Regions from separate parts of the Homo sapiens genome. Here region 2 is linked to region 1. The links are contacts of gene promoters, found by promoter capture Hi-C in human tissues and cell types (Jung and others, 2019). All regions are on one chromosome and are shown on one strand. Each heading gives the region's core, a stretch centred on a gene start or on the middle of the fragment in contact. The rest is flanking DNA. Distances are from core to core; before and after follow the strand shown.

The links. Contacts are between HindIII fragments. The study calls those that stand out against the background at their distance.
Region 2: a contact is called between a fragment that was not itself captured here and the fragment with the promoter of SOX17 in region 1, in 1 of the 25 tissues and cell types used here (dorsolateral prefrontal cortex).

What each region holds. Positions count from the first base shown.
Region 1 is chr8:54,455,541-54,459,184 of GRCh38, reverse strand. It overlaps SOX17 (SRY-box transcription factor 17), which reads right to left and starts at 1,250. Exons shown (of 2, transcript NM_022454.4): 1 at 740-1,250; 2 at 1-127. The coding sequence starts at 1,046. The HindIII fragment of the contact is 11,857 bases long and covers 1-3,644 here.
Region 2 is chr8:52,955,366-52,959,009 of GRCh38, reverse strand. No RefSeq gene overlaps it. Among named protein-coding and RNA genes, the nearest start is that of NPBWR1, 18 kb to the right of the region's middle. The HindIII fragment of the contact is 6,265 bases long and covers 1-3,644 here.

The sequences.
Region 1 (3,644 bases), core at 1-2,500:
ACCTGCTTGCGCCGCCGCGGCCGGTACTTGTAGTTGGGGTGGTCCTGCATGTGCTGCACGCGCAGCCGCTCTGCCTCCTCCACGAAGGGCCGCTTCTCCGCCAGCGTCAGCGCCTTCCACGACTTGCCTGCACAGTGGAAGGAAGGGGGAGAGGGGCGCAGGGCTTATCGGCTGCGCTCCCGCTCCAGGCCCCACCTGGCCCCACCTGGACGCACCTCCCCCCTCAGACTTTGAATTGCGCAACCGGGGTGAAGTTAAAGAGGGAGATCTGGGACTCCTGAGTCCGAGCCCTTGGGGAACACCCGTCCTCTAAAGGCACCCCTTTCTTTTGGTCTCCTGGAAGCGGCTTTCCGCTCACCCATCACCCGGTCGTTCGAAAAACAGAAAAGGACACCTAACTAGGGAAGGGGTCGAGGGATGGACACAACCGGCCCAGTTCAGGGCCAAGGGTGCTCTCGCGCCGCCCGGAGGTGCCGGGAAGTCGCCTTCCCAGAGCCGTTGGACCCGCGCCCCCGGCCACCTGGGGAATCCGGGAGCCGGAGAGCAAGGCGGAAAGCTGCTTTGGAGGGTCGGAGGGCGGGAAGCGGGAAGGGAACCCAGAGCCTTAAGAAAGGACGTGGCCGCTACACACCCCTGGTTTTGGGCGTCAGGCTCGCAAAGAACAGTTTGGGGTTTAAGAAATCGGCCTAGCGATTCGCGCCAGCGCGCCCGGCCGCCTGGGTCTGCGACTCGGACTCACCCAGCATCTTGCTCAACTCGGCGTTGTGCAGGTCTGGATTCTGCTGCGCCAGCCGCTTGCGCTCGTCCTTAGCCCACACCATGAAAGCGTTCATCGGCCGCCGGATACGGGACTCGCCCTTGGCTCGGCCCGCGGCCCCGGCCGGTGCTCCGCTGTTCGCCGGCGCCTCGCCCTTCACCTTCATGTCCCCGATGGGGCTCAGCGACTCGGCCCAGGGGCAGGGGCCCAGCCCGGCCATCACCGCGGGCAGCGCGCTCTGGGTCTGGCTCTGGTCGTCACTGGCGTATCCCGCATCCGGGCTGCTCATGGCGCTCCAGGCCTGCCCCGCTCCCCTCAACCCTCCGCCGGACGCGCCGCCTCCCCCGACCCGGGGGAGGGGGTGGGGAGTGAGGCACTGAGATGCCCCGAGGGCTGCGCGGGTCTCCCGGCCCGAAGCCGCCGCCCGTGTTCTGGCCTGTCGCGGTCTGGTCTACAGCGTACCCAGGGCCCCCAGCCGGCCTAGTGACACTGCGGGCGCCCCTGGGCCGCGGGGCCTTTTCTGCACAGATGTGGCCAATGGAGCGGCGAGGGCGGGCCGGTCCCGCGTCGTTAGGCCCACGCCCAGGCCGTGGTCCGAGTCCCACGTCCCAGTCCAACCCCACGCCCGCCCCTTGCCCCTCCCCCGGCCCCGCGCCCAAGGCTACACCTGCCCCCGGGAAAACTAGCCGGAGCTGGGCTCTGGCGCCGCGTCCTCTCCCACCGGGGTTAGGGAGACTCGAAAAGCCGTCTGGGAGGGCTGATTGTACCTTGGAATCGACGTACTTGCCCAAGGTCGTTTAGATGAACATACCGAGCGTCCATTCTATTCTCTTTAAAGCACATCTTTTTGCAGAAGCCGAGGGTGTTTCAGTGGTGGGTGACCTAGTTTACTTCCAAGGAACTGCATGGGCATCTTCAAATGTGTTTTCTCAAATGCGAAAGACACCGTTGATAATAAATTTAAAAATACAATTTTTCCCCCAGGACTCAACTTGCCTGTGTTATATTCAAAATGCTGTGTCCAAGATAAATCCTAATTTTCTAAAGCAAGATTAAATATGGAACGACGTTCTGTATCCAATATTCCTTCACTCTAAAGAATAAAGCATTTACTCATGACAAGCCAACCAGTTTTTATGTGTATCTTATTATACACATCATGTGAAAGTACGAAAATGTATACATGATGTATATAAGATACGCATAACAAAACTGTTTCTCGTATGTGTTCAGTAACAGGTGAGCCTTAATACTGATTTCTAAAATGTAAAGACAGCAGCAATATTTGTCTAAATGTCCGAGTTTGTTTGGGGGAAGAGAACAATCTGTTTTAGCTGCAAAGTAACTGTGGTTCTTACAGTCAGTTTAAAGCGGTTATTCTGGCAGATAATTAGATTTCTATAAGTTTCTTTAGACTGGAATGAAATCTGAATGACTATTAAACTTGTGTTTCGATCTGGAAAAAAAAAAAGTTTTCAGTGGGACTTTTAAAACAAGCCGTTATACAACACTGAGAAATGACACAGCCTGCCACTGCTATTCCTAGCGCCCTCCAGCATTAGCAAAGAAGCATATCCTCATATTAACCCTGAGGTAGACTCTATCTTACAGGAAAGGAAACGGAGGCAGAGAAGTTAAGGAACTTGCTGGAGACTACAGCGTTGAGAAGGTGGAATTCACACCCAGCAGTCCGCCTTCAGACTTGCAGCTCTTAATAATCACTAAGCCAGGCTGTTGTGTTTGTGTATTTGTGTTGGTTTTTGAGGGCAACTAACAGCCATTCCTGCATAATTAGAGATAACTTTGCAAAGAAATCAATATACGAATCTCCAGAACAGATTTTCTTTATTATGAAGGCGTGATAAAAAAGTAGAGCTTACACCTGGAATCTGAGAAGTAAAATGCTGCTGCTTTGAGTGTGATACTACAACAACAAGACCGTCTGTCCAGTCTTGCTTATTAGTGGCATCCATAAAAATACAAAACTTTTGCAAACTCCTGGCCTTCAGTTTCTCTGGCATTGCTTTTTCTCAAAAGAACTCTTACACAATTGTTTTAAGCCAACTTATCTTTAATTCTGCAAGTATCTGTGAAGCCTTGGCTAGGGGACAAGTTAAGAAAGTGTTTCTAGTTCCTGGGTCTCTAAGATTCAAACAAGAAAAAAAATTAAATCTGCATAAAGAAATCATAGAGAGGTGTTACTTCTAGTTGGTAGTTTTGAAAGCGGTTGATTTTAGACAAATTTAAATGATGATGTACTTTTAAAGCTTTATTTTTTCTGAAAAAAAAATGGGCTTCAGTATAAAGCAAAAGCACATTGCAAATGATTAAATAAGCAACAAAACTATAGGAGGAGAGAGAGCAATCTACAAATTAACCCCGTAGTACCTTGTTTTTTGCTGTTTTTTTTTTTTTTTTTTTTGAGATCTTTTCTAACTTTTCTGGATAATAATAAATATTTTTCAAAGCTCTCAAAGCAGAATTTTCTCTTAACACTAAATCTTTTATGAGCTAAGGAGTTTTCCTAGAATAAACATTGAAAATTAAAAAACAATATCTGGTCCAGAATTCATTTTTATCTGTCTAGTCTGTTTGACTAATTCCTTAAAAAACACTACAGGAAATACAATCCAGGTGTGAGTCCAAAAAATGTACATATACAGATTTAGCCCTGTACACTTTCTTCATCCTCATGCTCTTCCTCACCCAGCTCATTATTGGGAGAGGTGCGCTTGGGAGCCAAGAAGGTGGAGAAAATGATGGGGAAGAAAACGTGGGGTTTCCATATTTTATTGATTTATTTACTTATTCATTTATTGAGACAGAGTTTCCCTCTTGTTGCCCAGGCTGGAGTGCAATGGCGCGATCTCGGCTCGCTGCAACCTCC
Region 2 (3,644 bases), core at 763-3,262, 1.5 Mb after region 1:
TGTTTTAATGTCTTAGGGTGAAGATAAGCCAGTATAGGCTGTATTCATTCCTTGCTGATGGCCCTGGTCCTGCTGGCTAAGATTAAGCCTAGATATTTGGCCTGCTGTAGGCAAAGCTGGGCCTTTGACCTAGACACCTTATACCCTTGATTAGCTAGAAAGTTCAAGAGATCTAGAGTAGCCTGCTGGCAGGAGGCTTCCGAACTGGTAGCCAAAAGTAAATCATCCACATACTGAAGGACCAGACTGCCTGGACTTGAGAAGTGGCCTAGATCTTGGGCCAGTGCCTGATCAAACAGATGAGGGCTATCCCTAAACCCTTGGGGCAAGACCGTCCACATAAGTTGGGATGTTTGGTCTGTGGGATCCTCAAAGGCAAAGAGAAACTGGGAGTCAGAGTGCAGGGGAATACAGAAGGAATCCTTGAGGTCCAGAACTGTGAACCATTCTGCTTCCTCTGGTATCTGAGAGAGCAGGGTATAGGGGTTGGGTATAACTCGATGTAGAGGAATTACTGCCTCATTGATGAGTCTAAGATCTTGCACTAGTCTCCACTGACCATTCAGGTTTTGTATTCCTAGAATTGGGGTGTTGCAGGGACTGCTGCATTTCCTTACTAAGCCTTGAGCTTTCAAATGTTTAACAATATTCTGTAATCCTTTATGAGCTTCAGACCTTAAGGGATATTGCCTTTGATAAGGAAAAGCGGTGGGATCTTTTAACCTGATTTGGACTGGGTGGGCATTTTTTGCCCTTCCAAATTGTCCTTCCAAAGCCCAGACTTCAGGGTTGATTCCCTCTTCAAGTAGGGGACAACAAATGGGTAACTTGTTCCCCATATTCATGTAGATAATAGCTCAGCCTTAGCTAATATATCCTTCCCTAATAAGGGTGTGGGACTTTCAGGCATAACAAGAAAGGCATGTGAAAAGGGCAAAGTCCCCCAAATACAACGGAGGAGGTGGGAGAAATACGTGGTTACAGGCTGTCCCAGGATTCCTCAGATGGTAACAGACCTTGAGGACAGTTGTCCAGGACAGGAGATTAACACTGAGAAGGCTATGCCAGTGTCCAGGAGGAAGTCAATTTCCTGGCCGTTAATGGTTAAAGGTACCCGGGGCTCAGAGAGGGTGAAGATATGAGCTGGTGCTTGCCCTGGGCACCCTCAGTCCTGTTGTTGGATCATCTGGTTGGGGACTTCTGACCCAGAGAACCCTCATCCTCTGGGGCAGCGCACCTTCCAGTGATTGCCTCAGCATAGTGGACATGGACGAGGGGGGCAGCTTGTTTCTCATTGGACAATCTTTTTTAAGGTGTCCTAGTAAACCACACTGATAACAAGCCCTACCAGGTGATTGGCCTGCTCCATTTTCTGTCCTCCCTGAACCACCAAGGTTTGTTTGTCTGAGGGCCATGACCAAGGCTGTGGCCTTTCTCTGATCTTGTTTTTCCTTTTGGGCCTATTTCTCTTGGTCCCTATTATAGAACACCAAGGTTGCCAGGTTTTAAAATGCCTCCAGATTTTTTTCAGGGCCCAGGGCTTACTTTTGGAACTTTCTCCTGATATCTGCACCTGGGGCTGATTGGGTAATAAATTTATCTTTTAGAATCAATTGACCCTCAAATGATTCAGGTGACAGGGGAATATATTTTCTTAAGGCCTCCCATAGCCGCTCAAGGAAGACAGAAGGATTTTCTTCCTTTCCCTGAGTTATGGTGGACATCATTGAATAATTCATGGGCTTTTTCCTAATTCTCTTTAGTCCTTCTAGAACACAGGTCAACAGATGTTTATGACTCCAGTCCCCATGATCTGAGTCGAGGTCCCAGTGGGGATCCATACTGGGGATGACTTGCTGACTGGTAGGGAATTTTTCCCTTTTGTTTGACTGTCATTCTATAATTTACTTGACTAAGATACCAGGTATCTCCAAACTCTCAGGCTGCAGCCAAAACCACATTCTTTTCATTAAAGGCCAGGGTTTGATCTAACAGTAGCATGACATCTCTCCAAGCGAGGGCAAAGGTTTGCCCTAGACCCTGTAGGACATCTATGTACCTATCAGGATCATCTGAAAACTTCCCCAGGTCTGCCTTGATCTGCTTTAAGTCAGAGAGGGAGAAGGGGACAGGTACCCAGGTTGCACCAAATTCCCCTCCCCCTACAGCTTGAAGGGGACATAACTGATGGCCCGATGGGGGAGTTGTGGTCCTTTGGAGATTTCTTTGCTTATTTCCTTCTGGGCAGGGGAGATTAGAGGAGGATTATTATTAATAGGAAGGGGAGTTATAGGGAGGCTAGGATATGGGGGTAAGCTGAGAGGTCCTCCTGTGGGATGTAAATTGCAAGCTTTGCATAGTTGTGTATTCTCCCTCAATGAAAAGAAAGCTTGGACATAAGGTATTTCACTCCACTTGCCTTCCCTCTTACAGAAAAGGCCAAGCTGCAGATTAGTATTGTAATTTATACCTCCCTCAGGTGGCCTTTTTTCCCCATCAGAGAGAGAATATTGGGGCCGAGCCGTAGTGCAGAAAAAAAATGAGCCGCCTCTTTTTCAGGGTTTGTGGGTCAAATTGGTCCCCATGGCTTAGGATGCATTTCAAGAGTGAGCCTGTTGATGCCTGAGTGCTTCACATCTGAAAGAAAAAACCGCCTGCAGTTTTGTTTTGTTTTGTTTCTCCTCCTGCCCAAGAACCCGCAACAGTCCCTGCACCCTGCTGATCAGAATAGTTGTGCTCACCAACACAGCAGCAGAAACACTAGTTTTCCTCCCAGACCACATGGAGGACCGAGGAAAGTCTGATTTAGTGGCCCTTTCTGACACATTCTTGAAAACCTGCACCCTTGCCTGTCCTCCTATACCACATGGAGGACCAAGAAAAATCGGATTTAGTGGCCCTTACTAACGCATTCTCAAAAACCTGTTAGAGTCCTAAGCATTTTCCTGTTAGTAATGGGACTTTACCTTTGTCCTATAAAGATGTTATGCCCCAAAAATGAAGTGGAGGGCCATACCCTGAGGGAGGGAAGAGATCTCCAGGGTTGGAATAGTTACTCCTTTTTTCCTCACTTATATGAATAGGAAGGATACAATTTCTGAGGCTCCCCATATCCTAGCTTCAGGAATAGCTTTTGTTAGGACTGTTAATCTGAGGAGGGATCCTAAAATTCCAGGTAGTACCCCCTATGATGGGGCTTTGGGCAAAAATTATGTCTTTCTGATTGGTGAGCCAGGGTGCCTAAAGAAGATAACAGAGTTTTGGAGTTTATACTAGAAGTCATTCTTATAGGAGACACTAGAAAAGCACCAGAGACAGGGAGAAATTTTTAGAAGTGCGACTAACTTTGGAGAAGAGAGGCGGACGAAGCTTGTCTGGCAGGCACTAGGACCCAAGGGGCAAGGGTCAGGATAGATAGGATAGATGGGTGAGTCTCACTTGGGCGACATGCCTTTGAGAGTTCTGCTCATGGCCGCAGGGTCAACCAACTTGTTGTCGGGACCCCGGAGCTGCATGGCTTTCCTCTCTGTCGACCCTCGGCTCAGCCCAGAAGCACAGGAAAAGCAGAAGCTGGTTCTAGGCAAACGAACACTCCCAACTCCGAAGAGTCGGGGGTTGTTAGAGAGCCCTTTCCCAGAAAGCCT